Linked DNA regions of Homo sapiens: all the other regions are linked to region 1. Evidence: promoter capture Hi-C in 16 types of primary human blood cells and fetal thymus (Javierre and others, 2016). All regions are on one chromosome and are shown on one strand. The core of a region is centred on a gene start or on the middle of the fragment in contact, and the rest is flanking DNA. Distances in the headings are between cores, read along the strand shown.

Region 1 (3,345 bases), core at 105-2,604:
TCGAGACCATCCCGGCCAACGGGGTGAAACCCCGTCTCTACTAAAAATACAAAAATTAACTGGGCCTGCTGGCGCGCACCAGCTACTCGGGAGGCTGAGGCAGGAGAATCGCTTAAACCCAGGAAGCGGAGGCTGCAGTGAGCCGAGATCGCACTACTGCACTCCAGCCTGGCGACAGAGCGGGACTCCGTTAAAACAAACAACAAAAAAAGATACAGCATTTGAGCCGGGAGCAGTGGCTCACGCCTGTAATCCCAGCACTTTCGTAGGCTGAGGTGGGTTGATCACTTGAGGTCAGGAGTTCGAGACCAGCCTGGCCAACTTGGTGAAACCCGTCTCTACTAAAAATACAAAAATTAGCTGAGCATCCTGGTGCGCGCCTGTAATCCCAGCTACTCCGGAGGCCGAGGAGGGAGAATCGGTTGAACCCGGGAGGCGGAGGTTCCAGTGAGCCCAGATTGCGCCACTGCACTCCAGCCTGACGACACAGCGAGACTCCGTCTCAAAAAAAATAAAAAATAAAAAAAAATAGAGGTTGAAAGCATCAAGTTTTGAATGCACAATAGCTTGGCAGAAAAACTTTCACTTGAAAATTTGATGAGCAACTCCTGGAACCTTCACCAAGCAATTTTTGAAATATACCGAGTTTTGCCAGAAAACTCGTTTTTAACTCAAATAAGGAGCCAAGAGAAATAGTCTGCTTACTCATGCTTACACATTTTGGGAAAAATTACTTGTATACCAGTGTCTGACTCATTCCTCCAACTCTGAAAGGTCTGATGAGGACTTAGCCTCTCGGACTTCGTGAGGTGGCTAATTTACGGTTTATTCCTGGCCTTCCTACCTCCTCAGAAAAGCCAACTAGCAGGGCTCCACAGCAGGGACCGGCCGGCGACCATGTAATGGAACAGGAGCGCAGAAAGAAAGGGGGGCGGACTACGAAAAGTCATCAAGGACCACACAAGCTTTAATACAAAGATTGCACAATGAGCGCGGGGCGCGGCACACAATAAGAAGCTCTGGAAACGCACACTCTCTGACACCTCAAAGTTTTAGGGACTTGGATGGCTGCAGAAAAATATTGGCAAAGGGATTTTCTGGGGAGGCAGGAAGAAAACGGCCGCCCTGCGAGGCGACGACCAGGCGCGGGGGACGAAGGGACCGCTGGACCCACGCCCAGGCCGGGTCGGCGGGGTCGGCAATCCTCAAGGGGGAAATGGGGTCCGAGGCACGCCCCAGGCAGCGGGCCCCGCTCTTCGGCAGCTCCACTCACCAGGAACTGGAGCATGATGTCGGTGGGGAGGGCGAGGAGGGCGCGAAGGACTGCAGCAGCTCCGCGGGCCGGTCCGAGCCTACCTCCCCATGCGCGGGGGGGGCGGAACCCCTCGTCGACTTCCGGGTCACGCCACGCCCCGCCCCGCTCCTCCCACTCAGCCCGCGCCCGGAAACGACTTGCAGTGTCGCAGCGCCCAGGTTCCCCCTGGCGGAGCGCGTTGGCCTCACCGCCTGAACCGGCGGGGCAGCGAGCGCGCGACAGGACTTGCGAAGAGCAAGTCCCGAGCCTGGCTGGGCATCCTTGAGCATCCCGCCTCTGTAAACCTGGGCCGAGGCCCAGGAATCTATATTATTCTCAGCACGCGGACTATTCTGATACACAGCCCAGTTTAGGGCTCTCTAACCTAGAAGGACGGCATGAGCAGCGGGTCCCATCCCTAGGTTCGCAGCTGAATCGTGGGGGCTTTTGCAGCATCCTCTACTTGGGCCCAGCTGGACTTTGCGGGGAGGAAAGGAGGCTTGTAGCTCTCAAAGCTCCGCAGGTGTGCTGTGTAATCAGCGTTGTGTAATCAGGTGTTGTGTAATCAAGGTAGAGGCTGGGTACCGTATGGGGCCCATGCTGCCGTGTGCCGCACGCCAGTCACTGAGATGATGAGTTTTGTAGCAGAGAAAAGGTTTATTCACCAGGCAGCCAGCCGAGGAGACGGGAGAACAGATCTCAAATCTGCCTCCCCAAAGATGGGTTTTAGGGATATTTATGGGATAGAGGAGCAGGGTGGTCTGAGGTGTGGGGAAAGGCGGTTGAAGGTAAGGAAAAGTTTGGCAATGGGTTATCTGCGCGAGGTAGTCAAGCTTCATGGCTCTTTATAGGATACATGGTCACAAAATGACATCCTTAGCATGATCTGAGTGTGGAGGTTTTGGCCCTCTAATGTCAGAAGGACACCCATCGGGCTTTCATGCAGGCCCAGTTGAGAGGTTGGTGGTTTAAACTGTACAAGAACTGACCCCAACTTCCTGAAAAACAAGAAACCTTTATCAAGCAACCCAGATGTCAGAGATGTTATCCATAAGGAAGATAGTGGGAGCTTAGATATATATTGTTTAGCTCTGTGACTTTAGCTATGTGGGTTTTTTAATCCACTAAAAGCAGGTGACTAAAAACAAGTGAGAGAAGTTGCATTTGGCAGGCCTCATCAGGTTGGCTCTCAGTTTCACTGGCCTAGCTGGGTTTCTTGCCTGGGATGGCCATAGGTCCTGTTGACAATTTGTATCATCGCCACAAAGAGTCTGTTCTGTCAGTCTTCCGGTCTGTGTATGTGTGTGTTTTTTTCTCTCTTTCTCTTTTAAAGAATTTATTTTAAGCCTATTATACCACACAGTATGTTTTAAACACTAACTCCCTAATAAGATATATAACTCCCTAATAAGATAAAGCAAAGACAAAAAAAGTTCATCTTATTAGAAACAAGATACACCATCCCTTATTGTCTTCAAAAATTATTGCACTTTAATTTTCATAATTTGACAAAGCATTCATGAAACAATCTGCAGACTAGTTTTAACAGACAAATAACACCTGTAAGCAGACATGACTGTCCTAAATTATTAGGTACGAATTTTACAAACTTTTTTTTTTTTTTGAGACGGAGTCTCGCTCTGTCACCCAGGCTGGAGTGCAGTGGCGCAGTCTCGGCTCACTGCAAGCTCCGCCTCCCGGGTTCACGCCATTCTCCTGCCTCAGCCTCCCGAGTAGCTGGGACTACAGGCGCCCGCCACCACGCCCGGCTAATTTTCTGTATTTTTAGTAGAGACGAGGTTTCAACGTGTTAGCCAGGATGGTCTCGATCTCCTGACCTTGTGATCCGCCCGCCTCGGCCTCCCAAAGTGCTGGGATTACAGGCGTGAGCCACCACGCCTGGCCCAAACTTTACTTATATTAGTGGTAACGGTGGAGCTGGAGAGTATCACGCCTTCTCCAAGCTGCCCAGCAAGAACCATCAATAGTGTGGTGGAACTTATGGCACTTTCCAAGGCCACAGCTCCTTTGGCCTGCAGATGTCAGCCCAC
Region 2 (2,569 bases), core at 1-2,500, 1.5 Mb after region 1:
GACAAAGCCAGACTCCATCTCAAAAACATAAACAAAATAGAAAGGAAGCAAATTAAATTACGCTTTTGAAAGAAAGCAATTTATTAGAAGCCAAGAGAAAAGAAGTGATGTGATGAGAAGTGGAAAAGGACAAGAAGACAACAATGGACTAAGAAAGGAAAAGGACCATAATAAGCATAAGAAAGAAGAGGAATTGTGTGGTGGTCAGAAGAGATATTGTAGAAAGGAGGGAATGGCAGTCATGTGAAACGCGAAGCCGCCATCCCAGTCAATATGGGTGGGATGATGGGAACATTCCCCACATCCTAAAATATTCCCACAATGAGCTGGCTGTTCGAACATTATAAGGCTCTTTTCTGGTGTGTGTGCATGTTGCTTGTATAAGGCATATGCCCCCGACAGAAGTAATGTATTCAACTTTTAAGTCACTTAGTCTTTGAAGAAGCACTTTCAAAAGCGGATTTTTTTTTTTTTTTTTTTCCTGGAGGGAGGCTGACGGGACTAGAACTGAGGAAGAGTGTGGAAGTATGTCATAGCCATGGGCAACAGGTGCTGGCAATGTCAGAGATGAACTCTGCCTATTCACAATACTGTCAAAGTATAATTTTGAAAAAGCTAAAGCCATAATTCCCAGACAATTATCTAGACACTCTTACAAAGTGACGCTGTGTTAACTCGACTCATAAGAAATCAAATGTGTTAATGAAAAAAGAAAGGAACTATTTAGAGCTATTTCAGGCAGGGGGTGAGAAAACGGGGTAAAAGACAGGGGAAGAAAAGAGGGGGAAGAGGCGTTCCTGGAGGCGAGAGAGCCTGAGAAGGTGTGGGAAGCTTCGGGCTGGTGGGGGTGCATCGGGGAGCTGCCGCTGAAGTAACAGGGCTGGACGAGGGAGCCAGGGAGTACGGGGTGGGGGGGAAGACACACCTCCAAATTCAGCATTTCGGACTCTGAGGACTCCTCGGATCCCGCCTCGCCCTCGCCCTGGTCCTCATCTCCGTCCGAGTCCAGCTCCTGATAGCGGTGCATGAGCTGCTGGAGCAGGTAGGAGGAGGCTATGTTAGAGCTGCCTTTCGTCTTCTGCCCCATGGGAAAAGACCAGCAAGGCTGACGCTCTTTTTCTGCGCGAAACTGTAACGATCGGGCTCCAGTTCGGGATCTGCCCAAGCCTCTCAGGAGAGAGGCAGCTCTGGTCCTCAGGAGAGCCCTCTCGGAGGTCGCCATCTTGTTTAGCGGGGTTGCCTAGGAGACTGACCCCAGGCAAGGGGAACCGCGGAGGATTCTGGGGCCTGTAGTCTCCTCCGCGCGTACTCGCCTTCTGCAGGCGGGGCAGTGGGCGCTCCACTTGACTTTTCTTTTTCTCAGTCTCTTCTGTTATTTTTCTCTCTTTGGTCTGTTCTGTTCGCTTATCTTTCCTGTTTTCACCTCTTTTCGCTACACCCCCTTTCTTTGTCTCCAGCTGTTTCCTCCCTACCCTGAGACCCCTCTTAGAGCTTTGTCATCCCACGATAGGATCGCAGGTGCGCCACCGTTGCCGCTTCATTCCCAAAGGGCTCTTTCCGCAGAGTCGTACTTTAGAAGTGTCTAATGTCTCTAAAGCAGTCTGTAGGAAAGCTAGTACCACTGAAATTTATGCAAAGCGCGACGCTAGGAGATGAGGGTGCATATAAGTGAAATAGAAGGCATGGTTCCTGTCCTTATGATTTAATTGCAGATAATAAAGAGAAACTACCAGACGACGCCTGAGAGCTGATTTCCAATTAATTTACATTCCCCACCCCCACCCCCCAATGATAAGCCTTGTCCTTGGGGAGAAAAACTGGCAGTGGTCTTACAATCCAAACAGAGAGAGAAAAAACTGCTGTCAAATTGACACTGTATCTGAAAGCGTCTGAAAAGCTATTAGCATCCCATAAATAATTATATTAGTCAAGTGACCTGCATTGGCAATTATTTTAATCTTGTTGCACAGGCTCTCTTTGCAGTTAAAAAAAATACTCTTTCAAGATAACAAAGCACGATTTTATGCTAGTGTGATTTTATGTGACCCAAATCCCATAGCCTTAAGCTCCACAACGTCGACACTCTATAGAAAAGCAGAATGAAAATTATAGTAACTATTATTGCCATAGTGATGACAATAGAGATCCTTGCAGGGAAGTAGCCCTCATCCTTCTGGCCTTACAGGGCCTTTTCTGCACGCTTCAATGACAGCAGTTGCAAATACAAAATGATCCTGTCAATGGCTGTCAGGGGAGAAGGAGAAAAAATCCTTATGGACACCATCCATTGACGATTATCTTTCTCAGTGCTTGAGGGACCGTTAAAACTGACATAAAGCTTTCAGAATTACCTTCCTTCATTATCTTGCTAGTCATAAATGTAAAGGCCACAAGCAAAATATCTCTTTCTGCCAGGCTCATCTTGCTTTTTGCTTATTTCTTTTTCCAATAAGTAGAGATTCCTCCAAGGGAATTTTCCCCACCCTTACCCTCGTAGGGCCTGGCTTCGGCTAAGTGACATAGGGAAGAATCAGGCAGAAAGTGTAAAAATGCAAATCTCGATCGTTTT
Region 3 (3,247 bases), core at 543-3,042, 1.9 Mb before region 1:
AGTTACACAGGTTAGATAAACATCTAAACTGACATTCAACCTATGGCTATCCATGACCAAAGCCCGTGATTTTAACTACTCTTCTATACTGCTTATAATTAGATATTATTTTATTTATTTATTCATCATTCATTCACTCACTTATTATTTTTTGAGACAGGGTTTCACTCCTGTCACTCAGGCTGGAGTGCAATGGTGTGATCTCGGCTCACTGCACACTCCGCCTCCTCAGCTGGGACTAAAGACATGTGTCACCACACCTGGCTGATGTTTGTATTTTTTGTAGAGACGGGATTTTGTCATGTTGCCTAGGCTGGTCTCAAACTCCTGGGCTCAAGTGATCCACCTGCGTCAGCCTTCCAAGGTGCTGGGATTACAGGCGTGTGCCACCGTGCCCTGTGTATTATTTTAAATAAAAGTATTTATTTTTTAAATGAGCAGTTATTCTTGGGAAATTTCTTCCTATTATTGCCTTTTTGTGTATTTATTTTTTACAGGGAACCAAAGTCCTGCAGATGTTCATGTGGTACCTGAATCCACGGCAAGTCTTTGATCTTTCTCAGGAAGGGCCAAAAGATGCGTAAGTCTGGAAATATTCTCCATGGTCCATATGTATTTTAGGCAAGTGAGAATTTTCTGCTTCATTATCTGATTACCTTGTGAGGTATATCCTGACCATCTGTCATCTACCTTCTCACCTGTACTCTCCTTCCTTTAAAACTTCATCCAAAGTTCTCTCCTACTCTTTATTGGCTTAGTTCCCTTCGAAACATATCTTCTCAGCTATTAACTCAGGATACGTCTAGTGTGTTTGTTACTTACGTATGTGTAACTGTAGGTTATTCTCTGCAAATCTGTGAATTGAGAAAGGACTCATTGTTTTTCTATTTCTTCATGTACAACTTTGGAGATGCACATTAATGGAATGTAAATGTATGTCTGTGGAGGGTGGAGCCATGTTTGTTTATGAATATTTGAACTGAAAAGAGAGAGTGTGTGTGTGTGTGTGCGCGCGCTTGTGTGTGAGAGAGAGAGAATCAATTGATTATACCTGAGGACTCTGCACAAATGTGGGGAAGACATATTAATTCCTGCTCAATCCCGTTTCTGAGCTTCTCAGAAATCTCATTCTCTGCTTTTGTTAGAAGTGTTTAAAATAAAGTCTAGATTGTAGGTGACCCATATCCTGCTTCTCTCCTTTGGTGGAGAGGCACACAGTGGAAAAGACCAAGGACACTTCTGCTGTTCTCTGGTTCTCCGTTTTAAATTCATGTACTAGGATAGTTCAGATGTTATCTGATAAATGTTAGAACACAAGGGTACCACTTATTTTTTAATAAGTAACAATATCAGAGGAAAAGGTGATTTCTAGAGAAATAGTATTCTTGTATAAAATGGATAAATTACTTATTTTAAGCATGCAGATTAGGAAATATGAAAATTAATTTGTTATTTTCTTAACGTATGAATTTCTTCACCAGTTGAGTTTGCTGCAAGATTCTTCCTCTCTCTGTCCCATAATACATATATATATATTTATTTATTTTTATTTTCTGTACTTGATTATGCTAAGGCAAATCTGCTATCCTGGGATGTGCCATTTTAGGAGCTTATTTTTCTTAAGATTTTATCACTTTAGTTAGACCCTAGAGAGACACTTCAGAGGTCACCGTAAAGAACATGGTAGGACAGGAAATATTTTCAGAAAAAAACCATATTTTGTGATTTAAATAGGTGATATTTTCTAGATTACAGCCTCTAGCAACTTCACCTAAGCAAAAGATTTAGCAGGGGCAGTGTCAATGCATTTTCCTGAGATCCAAGAGGAAAGACAAAATTATCTTATTTCAAGCAGAGAAGTTTGAAATAAATAAAAATCAGTCAATCTTCCCACTTTGGGTTGGAGGTGTAAGTGGTGTGTAACTGAGCTGAGAGAAAGACTAGATGGAATTGTAGATGTGATACCTGTGTTCACATCTGAGAGTGCGGAAGCCTCCCCGTCTCGCTGAAAAAGATTTCTTAGGATTAAGAGTAGAAAGTATAAGTTAGAAGAAGTAAATACATCCAGGGAAAACTAATAAATATAAAGAGGGGATATATAAGGACTACTGATTATCAATTAATGATGATTTTCTTGGGGAAAGGGGAAGAGGAAATGATGGGAAAAGAAAAAGAAGGAAGTCAAAACTAACGAGGAAAATAATGTTGACATATAATAGAAGTTATGGGAAATAAAACTAGGACATCCTAAAATCCCTTAAATTCCAACGTTGAATTATTCATTCAAAAATAATGTCTGATGCCTACACCTGTTCCACTGGTGGGAGTCATTCTTCCTGTGGTTACTTGGGACCTATGATAGCATTGTCATCCTCATGATTACACATTTTCTCCAGCGGACACCACCCCTACCTACCCATGTTGTCCTCTGCTTTCTCTCTGCTCTAGCCAGTGAAATGTTCTTTTGTTTACTTTTTCTTCTATTTCCTCTACAGGCTTGAATTGTATAGGAAAGTACCAAATCTGCGAATTCTGGCCTGTGGTGGGGATGGAACGGTAGGTCCCTGAGAGAGAATCCAGTTCTCTGCCAATTCTATCTTTCTTATTGTTTTCTTGTGGCACTTCTTTTTATTCGTTGCTCAGTCTTTCTAATCCCCTAACACATGTATATCTCTCATGTGAATCATAGCCCCTAAGAGTAACAAGGGACTTTGTTATTGTCCTTATGAATACATACTTGATCCTTCTAATGTGTGCTTCACTCCTTCAACTATGCTGTATTCTTTTGTGTGCCATGAAGTAGGGATGTGGTCAAATCCTTAAAATGAAGATTATAGATAGATAAATTCCTTTTAAAATATAAGCTGAACTGTTTCCATTTATTCTTAATAATTTGGCCACAGTAGGGAGAAATACGTGGACACAATTGAATTATTATGTTTTTTTTTTTACTAGTGGGAATAAAACTCAGAATATTGAGTGTTGTTTTGCCTTAAAGATTATTAATTGGTCCTATTTATGTTCTTTTTTGTTGACATACTTTACCTGTATATGGGGTATGTGTGATATTTTGTTATATGCATAGAATGTATAATGATCAAGTCAAGGTTTGGAGGTATCCATTACCTAGGCTATCATTTCTATGTGTTGGGAACATTTCAAGTTCTCTTTTCTAGCTACTTTGAAATATATAATACATTGTTGCTAACTGTACTCACCCTACTCTGCCATTGAACATTAGAACTTA
Region 4 (3,670 bases), core at 263-2,762, 1.1 Mb after region 1:
AAGAACAGAAGTATTATAGCTAGAAGAAGTAGGAAAACAACTATAGCCAATATTTCTTGCCACATAAGGTCTGTCTCCTCAAGCTTCGAGATCTATGGAGAGGATAAGAGGTGGGTCCAAGGGATCCTCAGCCAGTGGGACTTAGGTGACCCCCCCTTCTTGACTTATATCCCAAATAACTTTGGTGTCTCCACGACTCGAAAGCAAAATGTTCAAACTCGGTCCTTTCCTTCACGGGTTTAAGGAGGGAGAACACAGCCAAGTCTTAGAGACGCTGGACTTGCTGCAACACAGGAAAATGAGATGTGCAGGGTAAGGGATGGGGATGAGGAGGAAAGGGGCCACTTGGATTTCCCTAAAGGTTGGAGAGTAGCCAAAAGAGGTAAAATAAGAGTCCAGACAGAGTAGAGCAGTATGGGTGTAGGTTTCTCTGCACAGTGCCTTATTTAAGGGCATGGGAAAAGTTATGGGATGACAGAAAAGGTGAGTAAGGAGGTCAGCAGGGTGGCTATTTTGGATCCACCACTGGTCTAAGGAGAAGGTGGACCAGTCGTTGGGGCGTGGGGTATGGCAATCCAAACGCCAGCAATCTTTATGGTGCCAGAAATCCTAAACGGGTGAATGTCTTCCACACCCTTCCCCATAACAACACCTAATTTGTTTCTGACAGGAAAGGCAGGACTGGGATGGCCAGCCCAACCGACTAATGAGGAATTTGACCTCCTGGGATAGAAAATCTGTACTAAGGACCTTGAAGAAGTCCTTGCCCAGTCATTTTGGGCAGTATCGACGATCCGACATATGAAATTTAGACAGACACTAAACAGGACAATAGGCACTGGGGTATATAAACAAGCATGGCAATTTTTATAGACAGACAAGGGGAGGGGGTCCCGTGATGGGATCAGTCAGATGCCCTCCTGGCTGCTCCCCTTTCGGGGACTTAGGCTCCTCTTGGCATTGGCAGGCTGGTATAAACCCCTGGCTTGGATCGAGCTATGCCTGATGCCGCCCTAAGCCTTATGAGGTCACCACGGAACCACAGGTGAGGGCCTTCTCGAATTCCCTAGCTTTCACCCTGGAGCTACAAACTGGAAATTCAAGCGCAAGCCCTTGAACTCCACATTCACTCACTCACTCACTCACTCAGAGTTTATTACAATTTTTATACCCATTCTAAAACAGAGATCTCCCGGAGACCTGAATGAGAGAGGGAGAAGAGATAGAGAGAGAGAGAGACTAGACTTAACAGAGAATCCTGACAGAAACCAGGACTCTGTCCTCCAGTGTCCTGGAGCATGGACAGAGTCTGAGGGAGGACCTTCGTCAGGGCCGTTTCCCTCCCAGAGAGACAGAGTCAGATCTGACTTACCTTCCCGGGACTAGAGACTGAGGACTCAGGAGTTGAATTTGGCTGGGCGCACCGGCAGTCGATCCGTTCCCCTCCAGAAGACAGTGGCCTGTGGAGCCCTGGAACGTCTTCAGGTGGCCCTGTAAGCCAGCTGTCTGTCTGGGGAAGCCCGGAATGAGTCAGGTCTTCACCCGGTGGCGAATCTCTCTGGGGCTTCCAAATGTCGTAACCGAGCAAGTCATAGAGAGAATGCCACACTCTGAGACTAATTCAGGAGTCCTTTATTGCTGGCGACTGAGAAAGAGCTAGAGCTTGAAATTCTCTCGGTCCGGAAGAAGAGGCTAGAGTTCTTTTTATACCTTGGCCTAAAGAGGGGAGGGGGAGTCTAGCTGAAGCAATTTTTTACAGAAGCAGAACAGGAAAAAATTAAAAGATAAATGGTTACAGAAACAGTTACAGGAAAATAAACAGTTCCAGGTGCAGGGGCTTAAAGTATCCCAAAGTGATAAAAGCAGGGGCTTTGGATACCACCAACCAAGTGTGCTCCCAGGAGCTGCTGGTACAGCTTGCCTCAGTATCTTATCAATAAGCGCATTCTTGGATGTGCTTGGAGTCAGCTTGCACCAGTTATGTCCTTAAGGAGGGGGACAAGGGGCTGCAAGCGAAGAAACCAAGCTAAGACTCTCTCAGCTATTGACTCTCTCGATATTGACTCTCAATTGAGTCTCCCAAGCTATTGACTCTCTCAGCTAAGAAAGAGTCAATCAGGATAAAACAAGATAGGGTATCACAATTTGATCTGCAAGATTATTTCCTGGACTTGTGAAAGGCGAGTCGTTTTGGTGCCCTGGGACATGTACAATAGCTATCTCTTCTGGCAATTGGAGATTGTTGAGGACACGAGCATCAGTTCTCTATGAACTAAATCTTGGCCTCTACTATTGATAAGAGCCCTCTCCATCCAAATTTTCCCAAATGTGTGTGCCTCCCCAGAGGGATACTTAGAGTCAGTATAGATAGATTTTCTTGGTTTTGTAAATGTCCTAAAGCTTGGCTGAGTGCAAACAGTTCACACCCTTGGACAGACCAATTATTAGACCCCCTTCCTGATTTTACTTTTTTAACAGTCTTTCCATTAATCACTGAATACCTATTATGTCTCTTTCTTTTAATCACCTGGGAGGTTCCATCTATGAATAAGTGCCACCCTGTCTTGAAGGGAGTTTTTCCTAAGTCTGGTTGAACTTTCGTATGGTAATTAATTCGATTTAAACACGCGTGCTCTCTCGTTTTACGTTTGGATCCCCCGTTAAAGAGCCTGCTGAATAAAGTGAATTATTAGTACTTAATATTAAATCACCTTTTTCCCAGAAAGATAGCCTCATATTTTAAAATTTTTGAGTTGGTAATCTCCCTCCTTGCGTTTTGATTTAATATAGTTTTAACTTGGTGGGTTGTGGCCTGAAGCGGCTGGGGAGTAACTTGAAACCTCAGCTGAAGGGACAGCACAGGCTGGGGCGTGGCCTGAAACAGCTGGGGAGTAACCTGAAACCACAGCCGGAGGGACCTGAGAGGGGAACCAAAGGGGCAGGATTGGGGGCGCTGAAGGAAGGAAGGTGATTTAGAGGATCCCATGTCTTGGTAGGTATGGGTTGTCTAGGCATGGGAACTCTTTCCTTTTTAGAAAGGTTGGTTTCTGATTTTCTCCCTCCAGAGTCTAAAGGGTAAAGGAGAACTGGTCCCTGCCGCCAGCAGAGGGCGTAATCGATTTTTCCTGGGACACAGGGCTCTTACTGTTAACATATTTGATTAACAGCTGACAAATTCGCTCTTCATTAGACTTAAATTTTGGCCAGAAAAGTGAGGGCTTAAGGATGGGTTCTCGAACTTAAATAAAACAACAATATTCTATCATCTGCTGTTTTTGTTTATACTTGGTTCTCTTATTATTTTTTCAATACTTTAGCATAAGCCCCAAGGGGCTATCAGAAGGAAATTCATCACTCTCTAGACTCTTTAGTTTTCCTGTCTTACTTGAAACGTTCCCCATCTTAGGGATTATGGGGAGGAGGCCCAACCCCTCCTGTGAGATTTCTACCCTCCCCCTTCCTGGAGGCTTACTGAGGCTTTGGGGAAAGGCTCCAACCCAACCTGTTTGGATTTCTACCCTCCCCCTTCCTCTTTGTCTACTCTGTCTGTTCCTGACTCTAGTTGACAGATGGCAGCATGAGGCCATAGAGAAGACTCACTCACTCCACATAACCACCATACTAAGTCCCATTCATACACTGTCAGCCTCCAGCTTATCCCAACCACCTG
Region 5 (3,211 bases), core at 618-3,117, 1.9 Mb before region 1:
ATGTTTTGTAGTCCCGATTGATCTCTCTCTCTCTCTCTTTCTGTCTCATTCTGTCTCTTAAACTCTGTTCTTATTAATATAGCTATACTATATATCCATGTCTATGCCTGTATCTATATCTGTACCTAGTGCCTTCTGAATATATATAACCAGAACCATGCTAGGATGTAGATTGTTAAGAGACTTGTGAGATAAAGTCATAAATGAGAAGTACTTTACTTTTTTCCCTCCAGGTTATGTAAGAAAGGAAGTGGTGTTTAGAATTTTTGCATACTTTGGAATTTGAAATAACAGAGCACTAAAAGCTAGAATTCAGATTTTCAGATTCTGGTAATAACATGAAAATTCTGATCATGCACTTATGCACTAGAAGTCAAGAGTGATGCTACAGGATTAAAAACCACTAGAGTATAAAATACAAGTAAGGAACAGATCTTTAAAGTCTCTTACTGGATCCAGCAATGTTAGCAGACTTTGACCTTCCTGGTTTCCCAAGGTTTTGAGAGGACAGGCTCTGTAAAGGTCAAATTCTGTGCCAAGCAGGAATGATGCTGTTTGAAGAGAAAGCCATAGTTTGGTATTCCTCTCTGATTGGCCAGAAAAATCACAGCTAGAAGGCATGATTGATAACAGAACCTCAAATATCCTGAGTCAGAAACACTACCACTTTCCGCCTCCCTGCCTTAGACAGTTCTTGGATATTAGGTATTCAGAGGGACTTACCTTGGGGCCAACATTTATGACCTGTTACCCTTCTTATATTTAAGGAGAGTTAATTTGGGAAGTACATGGGGGATTTTATTCTTCATTTCTTACCCCATTTTTTATCTCATATTCTTTAGCAGGATCCAGATCCTGGGCTTCTTAATAAAATACCCCAAACTTCTTAATAATACTTGTAAAGTAACACAATTATCACAAATACATGGATTTCCAAAAATAGGCATGAAAAGAGGTCTAAATGAATAAGTGGCCAACAATGAGCTCATTCAATGAGCTCAATGAGCTCAAGTGAGTCTCATATTTAGTCTAACTTATCCGGAAGTTTTTCTAATGATTCACTTCCTTGAACTATGATGAAGTTTCTATGCATCAGAGTGAGAAGGGAGCAGGGAGAGACCCTTACATGGGAAGACCAGGCTTAGAAGAAAATTCTTTTGGGGAAAGTGATTTTTCTCTTTTATTTTAAGCTGTAGGACTATTTTAGAGTGGAATATGCAAATTGTTGAGTGTATGAACATGTACATTTATATGTATGTGATTATAAAACAATTAGTTAAAGATGTCAAGCATTAATCTTTGTATAGTTTATTGCTAAGGCTTATTGTGTTTTGATGCAGTATGAAATGGAATTGTAAACATTTCCCCTGCATGTAAATCAGAGCCTTTGAGGAAAATCAGCCACTGAAGGGCTGTTAAGGGAGAATTTATGTTAATTGGAAATAATAGGTAAATATTCATGCAGGTGGGATAGAGGTGGTAAAAAAATTAAATAACTATAAGATATTGGAACCAGATTTTGCTGATACACTTAGACCAGAGGTATGGACTTTTCAGTAGCTGTTATTCTGCTTTTTTTAAATAGTAAATTAAAAAATTATTTGTCTATGAAATATATAATTAAGCAAATAGCCTTTTTTTCTTTCTTTTTTTTTTTTTTTACTGTTTCTGTTCATTTGTATTTTCCCCCTATTTTTAACTAGTTAGTCAAGAAATCTTAAGCTAAGCTATAGAAGAAAAAACAGGATAAGCAAGACCAGATTTTTAATTGTGGCAAGCTTACTTATTTTGTCAGTAGATAGTGAGTGGCTGTTCTCAAACCAAGAAAACTCATAGTGAGACTTTAAACTGTTTTCCAACACAGGCACTGTCTGCGGCTTCATGGATCACTTGCCATAAAATACCTAAAGGGTAACACAAAGGCTCATGAAAGCCATTGTGAAAAAAATAAGCTTGGATAGTAGAATCTATGAGGTATTAGTCAAGAAAATGTAATACTTTTAAGTTGAGAATTATGCCAATACATCTACATAAAAATAGGCAATTAATATAAATCTCATTAAAGGAGAATTTTTAAAAATTTAACTATGGAAAGAATTTTTAGCACAGATGTAAATATAGCCCATCAAATGGACACTTCTCAGCATAACTACATATATTGTATTTCTTTTAGAAGGAATAATTAAACTGGCATTAATTCCCAATTTTATATCTACTTTATTCCAAACACAAATCAAACTCAAAAACATGTTTAATTACATTTGGAAGCTGCATACATAGCTTACGGAAGTCATGCCCTATGAAAGTCAAAGTAAATAATCGCTTCTCCACCTTCTTCCACCTTTTCCTGTTATCTCAGCCCGATATCCCTGGAAACCCTCCAATTTTTACAAAGCATCTAGAGTGCCTCCATCTTTAATGTGCTTGAGAATCACCTGGAGAGCTCCCCTCCACAGATGTATAGACTCCACACTCAAGTCATTCTAATTCAGTAGATCTGGCTAGGGCCTAATCATTTGCAATTCTAACAAGCTCTCAGCTAATGTCAGTGATGCCGGTTTGGAACTACACATTTATAGTCCTGGATTACTGTCCCTGTAGCACTGGGCTACTGTACTAACTGGCCTGGAACTGGGGGAAAGATGATAACCAAACCATGGGATCTATTGGATCTGTAGGATAGGAGGGAGCTGGGGAGGAAGTAGGAGTGCTAATCTAAGTCGCTACCTTTAGTGAGGTCTCCATAACAAAACTACTTTTCCTCTTTCACAGAAGCAAATCCAGAGAAATTCAACAGTCGTTTTCGAAATAAAATGTTCTATGCAGGGGTAGGTATACATTTTATTTCATAATTACTACATATTACTTATTGCCAATTCACTGTGTATCATAAAGTTGCAAACTACATGAGAAATAATCACATATACATCTCATTTATATATGTCTATCTATGGTTACTGTTTCATGGCTGGGCTTAAGAATGAAAGTGAGGTGTATTTCTTAAGTTAGCTGTCAGAAAGAGAGTTGGTGTTCCTCATCTCTGAGCTTTTAAGCAAGCCCCGAGGCTTCATGTTGAACAAGAGAAGATGCTATTCAAAAAGGGATGTGAGAAACAAACATCAAAGCCAGTGTAAGAAATGGAGGAATTGTGTAGACTGAGGATGTCTGAAGAATTTTAGGTAAGAACGTAGTTTTCACCAGGGTGCGCACA
Region 6 (3,521 bases), core at 85-2,584, 1.2 Mb after region 1:
ACTTGAATCCAGAAGGTAGAGGTTGCCATGATCTGAGATTGTGCCACTGCACTCCAGCCTAGGCGACAAGAGCAAAAAAAAACTCGGTCTCAGAAACAACAACAACAACAAAAACCCATCACAGCATTGTAAAGCCAGGAAGCTTTTAAAACAGAGATGATGTCTGGTGCCCACCAGTGTCTTGTTACTGATAGTGTTTTTAATCTAGTTGAAAAATTGTTGGAGGTAAAAGTCATTGTAAGTCTCCTATGTATGCTCACAGAATACTCCTAGGGCTGAAGGTACAACTATGTTTCTCCATCTTTTGCCATGATCACTACCTCCCTCCCACCTAGGAGCCTTGTGAGACTTTTTTTTCCCCTAATTTGCCCCAAAATAAAATTGTAATATCAGAGATAATATTGTACTTCTGCTTATGGCCAGTAGCCTTCTAGAGGGTCACAAGCTGTTCTATAAGCTGAGGGGGGTTTTTTTGCCCCAGAGAACTAATTTTTGTCTCTTTGGGGACAATAGCACCCACTTTAAGAATGCATGAGGTAAAAGAAAATGTGCCAGGAAAGACTTGCTCCACCTTCCCCAAGTGGGGTAAGCTTGTGATGGCCCAAGATCCTTGGATGGGGTGAGGGTTGAGGCGCTGTGGGCATGGAGGTAACACAGGAGCCAGATTTACTGTTCACTTCCCTGGTGTCTCTAAAGCCCCCATCTCTTCCTCTTCAAGACCAAAGACATTTAAATAAGCCCTGCCCCTACAGGGTCAGTCCTGGTCCATGCACATCTCAACTAGTTGGAAACAGCAGTGTCTTAGAATTTGGGACAAATTGATTAAAACAGAACAGGAGGAAGTTAATTTCTGCTGCCAAACCTGATTCTGAGTGATCGTTTCCTGTTCCTTGCTCCAGGATTATCAGCACAGCATTCTCATGCTTCCTACTCAGGACCGTTTCTTTACCCAAAGTGAAGTTTCCTTTGCCCCCTCCCCTTATCCTTTGATTTCAGTAGTAACACCTGCTAACTAGAGAACATTTCAAAAATGAAGAGTTCCCTGTTCCCAGAGATCCCCGTGGTTAATATTGCAAAATATCCAATCTCTGAGATACTTTGGTTTTACCATAAACACTGTCCTGTGACCGTCTTCCTGTTTAGCACTGTGGCTTGCTTTTTGACTTGCAGAGGGAAGAGAGGGAGGGGTATCTTGAAGTAACTAGCAAGACCTGTAAGCAAAAGGGAAGAAGACTAGGTTTTAAAAGGAGTGTTGTATCTGTGTAGGAGGGAGACACTGATTTTAGTTATCAGTGTCTCAGAGTTGGTATTAGCCAGCCGGTGTTATCAAAGGAGGAACTAGGACCGCTGTCTTGAAGGAGGTGGTGGAGGACTCAAGGGCAGAGGCTTCTCACTGCCATCACTTGGTGCCATCAGCCCAGAGCATTTCAAGTCACTGCCCAACGTAGAGCTTTGCAGAGCCAGAAGTTCTGGGAGGAATGGGCATGCATGGTTTTGCCCATCAAGGGCACACAGATTAGTGGCAGGATCGGGTTAGAAACATGTAGGATTTGTATGATTGAGCTGTAATTGGAGTGTTTCATATACTGCATTTCTACAGCTCTCATCAGTAATGGCTGTGCCTGGATGCCACCCAGCATGTTTTCATAGTTTACCTTCTTTTTAGAAGTCAATCTGGACCCCTCCTTCTGTTTGCATTTTCTCTTTGTTGACATGGAATGGGGAGATGTTGTCATCCTGTGTTGGCATTCCCAAGTTTAGTGAATGGTTTCTCACCATAGCTTAAGTTGGCTGCTTCATTTTTCATAAGGCAAATTAGTTTCTCTCAGGGAAGGGCTGTACATTGAGATCATTAACATAGAATGTGGTTGTGGATCCTCGTACATTTTCATTGCAGAGGTGACTTTTTCCCTCCAGCACCTTTGATCAGCCTCCCAGCACACATGTCTCCAGCGAATGGCACATATCCAAGGAATGATCAGCAGCTTCTTCGTGACCTCTTGCAGTCATTGCTGTCTTTTACTTTTCTAGAAAAACCTCTCACAACTTTTTTTTCATGTCGTGCCAACGCAAGCTTGATTATCCTAGTCTGTGCTCTTTTGGTTCCAAAGAACTGAAAAACCACTTTAATCTTAAGCAGGAAAAAAAAAAGTGTGTTTGGGGTGGGGATTGATTGACTTCCCCAAACAACAGCCGCTGACATTAGGTGTTTGAGATTCAGGGTTGTAAATGTTGTCACCAGGATTTGGCCTCCCTCCACTTTCCTGCAGCAGCTCCAGGCTGACATTCTCCCAGCTCAGTGACCCCAGCAGAACCGGGGCTGGACTCAGGGGTTCCAATTCAAGTGCAAAGATTGAGTCTTATGGCCTGGATTGAGTCATGTTCCTGTCCCCGCACCAGTTGCATGGCAGGCAGTGCGTGGCTAGGCTGAGCCTGCGGAGTGTGCCCTCAGCAGCTCCTCAGAGAAAAATCAATCAAGGCGCCATCAAGCCTGGAGAAAGTTCAGTGTGTCCTGGGCAGTTTCCTGCCTGGGCCCCAGTTGTTCTTTCTGGGGTAGGGATGTCCTCTGCTCTCCCTGCTGTCATCAGTGGTGGTTGTGCCCGGACACCACTCAGGGCCTGTGGTAAGGCATTCTTTCTGGAAATTGAGATTCTCTGTTCCTTCAACCGTGCAGAGTGGGGAAGGCTGCAAGAGCAGCTTCTGAGGTCCTCCAGTCAAATAAGAGGTCGCCAGGTCCTCTGAGGGTCGTCCCCTCTTAACCCACACCTTCGATGAGCATCCCCACCCTGCCTCGCTGCTCCCTCTGAGGTGGAGAGTGAGCTCCATGCTAACAGGCTCTGGTAACGGGCTTGTTCAACTGGGCCCCTTTCTTCCCCAAAGCCTGTTGAAAATAGCTGATGTCAAAACACAGATGTCTGCAGCTGCTATGGCCCTGGGGGGTTTTTCTTTTCATTTGTTTCTACCCCAGCTCTCCAAAGGAATGTGCTCTGTTCATTCAACAGCCCGCTGCACATGTTTATTGCTCAGCTCTGTGATCATAGCAGGATAGTGAAAGTTGGGGGATACGTGTCCATGCAGCCTACCTGGGTGCCAGTGAAGCGCGATGCCATGTAGGCACTTCCTCCTCCTCTTCAGTAGCCAGGCTCCCCACAGCTGTTCTGGTTACTCAGATGGTCAGGTGGCTTGGCCATGGACACCCATTCAGTCATTTTGCCAGGTCAGCCACTAACCATTTGGTGATCTTCCATGATCCACATTCCCCCTCGTTTCCCTTTAACTTATTTCTCTCTGCTGATACCTCTGAGGGGCCATCTCCCGTGTCTCCACCCCTTGAAGCAGATCCTCATACAGTGAGAATTGACACATGGGCCTTTGAATAAACATCAGTGATGTGCTTAACTTCATGATAATCTCCCAGAACCGCTTGAAAACAAGCGACTGCCGGTATCAGAAGCCATGCATGAAAAGAGAGCGTAAGGGGCAGGCATTCACTGGCTGAACTGGGGAGCCACATGGGAATT
Region 7 (3,428 bases), core at 87-2,586, 1.4 Mb after region 1:
AAAGTGCTGGGATTATAGGTGTGAGCCAGCCACCGTGCCGACCATTTGGGAAACAGGTTTTTAAAAAGCAGAGTAGGCTGGCCCGAGTTCCAAAGCACCGTGCTAGGAACCATCTAGAGTTAAAGTTCCTTCTGTCACTCATATTTAGGCTAATGGTTTTAATTAGGTCCTTGAATGAGGTAAATGTCTTACATGATTATTTATGGATTCCTGCATTTAGCCTTGTCCTTTGAACATAAGAAGTGCTAAAAGAGAACTTGTTGAATTGAATAGAAAGCAGTTTTCAAGGAAACCTTCATAGGCAGCAGAGCTTAAAGAGTAGCAACATTTCTGTTTCAGTTAGTAAGCCTAGTTCTGTAGAAGAATGGCTCATGCCTGTATTGTCTTATTTTTGTGCCTAATGGGTATATTTAAGGACTTGTATATCTTGGCATTGCTGTATAATACTAATACCAATGGAGAATGGAGTCATTTCTGGTAAGTAGCAGTATATTAATATGTAATAATACAATTACATACCTCTCACCAGCTTCAGGTAAATGCCTTTGGTCAAGATGAAAATACAGAGGCCGGGTGTGGTGGCTCACGCCTGTAATCCCAGCACTTTGGGAGGCCGAGGCAGGTGGATCGCAAGGTCAGGAGGTGGAGACCATCCTGGCTAACACAGTGAAACGCTGTCTCTACTGAAAAAAAACAAAAAAATTAGCCGGGCCTGGTGGCGGGCACCTGTAGTCCCAGCTCCTCGGGAGGCTGAGGCAGGAGAATGGCACGAACCCGGGAGGCGGAGCTTGCAGTGAGCCAAGATGGCACCACTGCACTCCAGCCTGGGCGACAGAGCGAGACTCTGTCTCAAAAAAAAAAAAAAAAGATGAAAACACAGAATACGAAGGCAGGTGAATATTGGTATTATAGGAAATCTGGAAGCTTCAGGAGAGCAAAGATAACTGCTCACTTTGTTCTTCTTCCAGCGATTGAGCAGAGCTGAATGGAAGACAAGCTCAAGAAAACCTGAACATTTTAAATGACTAGTTTTCAGAGTGCCTCAAGATGAATGTCAGGAGGAAGTTTTTAACTTTGTAAATTTGTTCCTAACAATCACTGTTGAATGTGGGGAATCTTCCCCAACTGTTTCACAGATCACTAAAGAGACTCTATTGAATTCCACAAACATTTTTTGAGTGCCTAATATATTCAAAACACTGGGTTAAGAGCTGTAGAGAATAGTAGACTACGGCAGTGTTTTTCAGTCTTTTGTTCATTATGCCTCCTCCAGAATACTTTTTAGACGTTGTTTTCTTAATCCCTCCCCTGCCATAGATATAGTGTGTACTGGTTCAGGTACTGTATGTATATTTGTACTTTATTGTTATAAAAAGAGTAAGATATCTCCCCCATCCCAAGAACCAATTTTGCCCCGTTGCTGGGCACCATTTAAAGTAATGTTCCTATCATCAACACTGGGTCCATTTTTCGTTTGACAGCAGTCTTGGTGATTCCTGGTCAGGAGGGATATATAAACATTCCAGGAGACCTGAGCATATTTCTGTCCCTGGGCTTTGCTACCTAAGCTGACTGGGATCCTGATTAAAGACCTTTCTGGTGAAGCAAAGATCCCAATAAGAACATATGACCAATTTCCTGCAGTTTACTAGGAAAGCTGTATCGTAGTTCTGGGAACAAGTGTGTCGTCACAGTAATTCTCACTCATGGCCTGATACACGCAAGGAAGAGTTAAATAAGAAAGCTTGACATTCTTCTCTGTGAGATCAATGCTAAGTATATGTGATCCAAAGGCTATGAACATTGAGATAAAGGACAGTGGGTAATTGAAATCCATCCACGCTGTTATTCTGGCCCTCTAATTAGAATGCATTTTAGTGTTCTGTATCTCAGTTTTTGTGCCTTCACCCCCTCTTTTATTATTCACTATACAGGAAGCATCCAGGATGTGGGAACATTGTGACATTTGCACAATTTTTATTTATTGCTGTGGAAGGCTTCCTCTTTGAAGCTGATTTGGGAAGGAAGCCACCAGCTATCCCAATAAGGTATGGTACATTAGAGTCTCTTTTAGCTTTTGGATTTTTTAAGAAAGTAAAGAGGTGGTACCTGTATAAAAGGAGGATGAGACATTCTTTTATAAGATTTATTTCAAAGATACCAGTAGAATAATAAGTCATTTTCTGAATTTAATATGTTGTGAAAATCCGGGGTACCTACTTCGAAAATAAAATTTCTGCCACAAGATTTAAAATAACCATGATGGAGACAAGAGTGTGTATGTGTGTGTGTTCTTATTTAGTATAGGATTAGTCAGAAGGCCTAGTGTGACCACAAATTTTGTGCTGTCTTCTGTGTTGGTGAAGTTATCAAACATTCTAAAAGGGGAGTATCCTTGTTTCTTTTTAAAAACGAATGGCTTTTGGAAATAAATAGAGGTAGTAGTTACATAACTTTGTGAATGTACTAAATGCCACGGAATTGTTCACTTTAAAATGGTTAATTTTATGTTATGTGAATTTCACCTCAATTAAAAGAAAATGAATGGCAAGCAAAGTCAAAATTTGTTGATGCCAGACCTGTAGTACATTAGTCCAAATGTGCATAATTGTACTCATGGGGCCAAATAGAAAACAGGGCAGTTCTTATGTTAAACAGTGTATTGAAAACTCAGCCTTCTTGCTGAGAGTGACTTGAGATAAAAGTGTAATCCATCCAGTTGTGAGTATTTAGTAGGATGATGTCACTTACTCCCGTTTAGAGCGACATTCTGGTGTGAATATATCCAAGTATGAAGGCAAAGGCCCATCTTTGTTGGTTTTCTTTTGCAGCATTCTTACGTAGCCTGCTATAGAAAATCTGGCTGAATTTTGTTAATATTATACTTTTAAAGTTCCCAGTGCGATGCTAAATATTCCAGATACTTTTAGTTTTTCATTTGCTTTAGTATCTGCATAAAACTTTCTGCCCCTAAAGACCAGCATTTATATTGCAGTAAAAGCCCCAGCATTTCTTGACTCCTCTGGCCCTTTCCTGCCTCTTCCCACTATCTCTCCCCATTCTCTCCACCACTAGCATAGATCAGGAAGTATACCCTGTCACCATATCTTTTATAATAGCATCCTAGCTGGCTGACTTCCCTGCCTCCCACCTCTTCATCCATCAATTTCACTTAATATCGTTTTATCATGTCGCCCCACTCTGTGGTTACCACGATGTTCTGAATGATGTCCAGACTCCCCATCCTGCCCTTTGAGGGTCTCTGTGATCTTGCCCTCATAACCATATTCTCATGCATGTCCTATGTGTGTTGGCCATTTTATTTTCTGTAGGTGGAGCCATAAACAAAATTTTGCTCATGTCGTTCATCCCCATCCACAATTTCTAGGCAAGCAATGTGGAATAGTTAAATTAATTACCCTAAAAGA

What was found. Contacts are between HindIII fragments. The CHiCAGO score rates a contact against its expected background, and 5 or more counts as called.
Region 2: a contact is called between the fragment with the promoter of LRGUK here and the fragment with the promoter of STMP1 in region 1, in 5 of 17 cell types (naive CD4 T cells, non-activated CD4 T cells, naive CD8 T cells and 2 more). The highest score is 7.1, in naive CD4 T cells.
Region 3: a fragment that was not itself captured here is called in contact with the fragment with the promoter of STMP1 in region 1 in 1 of 17 cell types (M1 macrophages); the score reaches 7.7 in M1 macrophages.
Region 4: the fragment with the promoter of AKR1B15 here is called in contact with the fragment with the promoter of STMP1 in region 1 in 2 of 17 cell types (total B cells and total CD4 T cells); the score reaches 9.6 in total B cells.
Region 5: a contact is called between a fragment that was not itself captured here and the fragment with the promoter of STMP1 in region 1, in 1 of 17 cell types (endothelial precursors). The highest score is 7.4, in endothelial precursors.
Region 6: a contact is called between a fragment that was not itself captured here and the fragment with the promoter of STMP1 in region 1, in 4 of 17 cell types (naive CD8 T cells, total CD4 T cells, total B cells and 1 more). The highest score is 6.8, in naive CD8 T cells.
Region 7: a fragment that was not itself captured here is called in contact with the fragment with the promoter of STMP1 in region 1 in 5 of 17 cell types (naive CD8 T cells, non-activated CD4 T cells, naive CD4 T cells and 2 more); the score reaches 8.5 in naive CD8 T cells.

What each region holds. Positions count from the first base shown.
Region 1 is chr7:135,660,523-135,663,867 of GRCh38, reverse strand. It overlaps STMP1 (short transmembrane mitochondrial protein 1), which reads right to left and starts at 1,354. Exons shown (of 3, transcript NM_001130929.2): 1 at 1,274-1,354. The coding sequence starts at 1,288. It also overlaps the pseudogene RPL15P11. RefSeq lists enhancers at 1-95, 96-620 and a silencer at 1,260-1,479. The HindIII fragment of the contact is 1,162 bases long and covers 968-2,129 here.
Region 2 is chr7:134,126,021-134,128,589 of GRCh38, reverse strand. LRGUK (leucine rich repeats and guanylate kinase domain containing) reads right to left here and starts at 1,250. Exons shown (of 20, transcript NM_144648.3): 1 at 926-1,250. The coding sequence starts at 1,222. RefSeq lists enhancers at 968-1,237, 1,348-1,397. The HindIII fragment of the contact is 1,507 bases long and covers 834-2,340 here.
Region 3 is chr7:137,597,156-137,600,402 of GRCh38, reverse strand. It overlaps DGKI (diacylglycerol kinase iota), which reads left to right. Exons shown (of 33, transcript NM_001321708.2): 11 at 498-580; 12 at 2,496-2,556. Among named protein-coding and RNA genes, the nearest start is that of DGKI, 250 kb to the left of the region's middle. The HindIII fragment of the contact is 8,119 bases long and covers 1-3,247 here.
Region 4 is chr7:134,546,952-134,550,621 of GRCh38, reverse strand. AKR1B15 (aldo-keto reductase family 1 member B15) reads right to left here and starts at 1,512. Exons shown (of 12, transcript NM_001080538.3): 1 at 1,373-1,512. It overlaps LOC105375520 (a long non-coding RNA gene), which reads left to right. Exons shown (of 3, transcript XR_928005.3): 3 at 1-3,265. RefSeq lists an enhancer at 1,442-1,501. The HindIII fragment of the contact is 2,317 bases long and covers 86-2,402 here.
Region 5 is chr7:137,577,887-137,581,097 of GRCh38, reverse strand. DGKI (diacylglycerol kinase iota) reads left to right here. Exons shown (of 33, transcript NM_001321708.2): 16 at 2,773-2,828. Among named protein-coding and RNA genes, the nearest start is that of PTN, 240 kb to the right of the region's middle. The HindIII fragment of the contact is 174 bases long and covers 1,781-1,954 here.
Region 6 is chr7:134,452,166-134,455,686 of GRCh38, reverse strand. The region is part of intron 1 of AKR1B1 (aldo-keto reductase family 1 member B); the gene reads left to right. Among named protein-coding and RNA genes, the nearest start is that of AKR1B1, 5.2 kb to the left of the region's middle. The HindIII fragment of the contact is 1,484 bases long and covers 593-2,076 here.
Region 7 is chr7:134,307,986-134,311,413 of GRCh38, reverse strand. It overlaps SLC35B4 (solute carrier family 35 member B4), which reads left to right. Exons shown (of 10, transcript NM_032826.5): 2 at 1,935-2,048. Among named protein-coding and RNA genes, the nearest start is that of SLC35B4, 7.2 kb to the left of the region's middle. The HindIII fragment of the contact is 820 bases long and covers 927-1,746 here.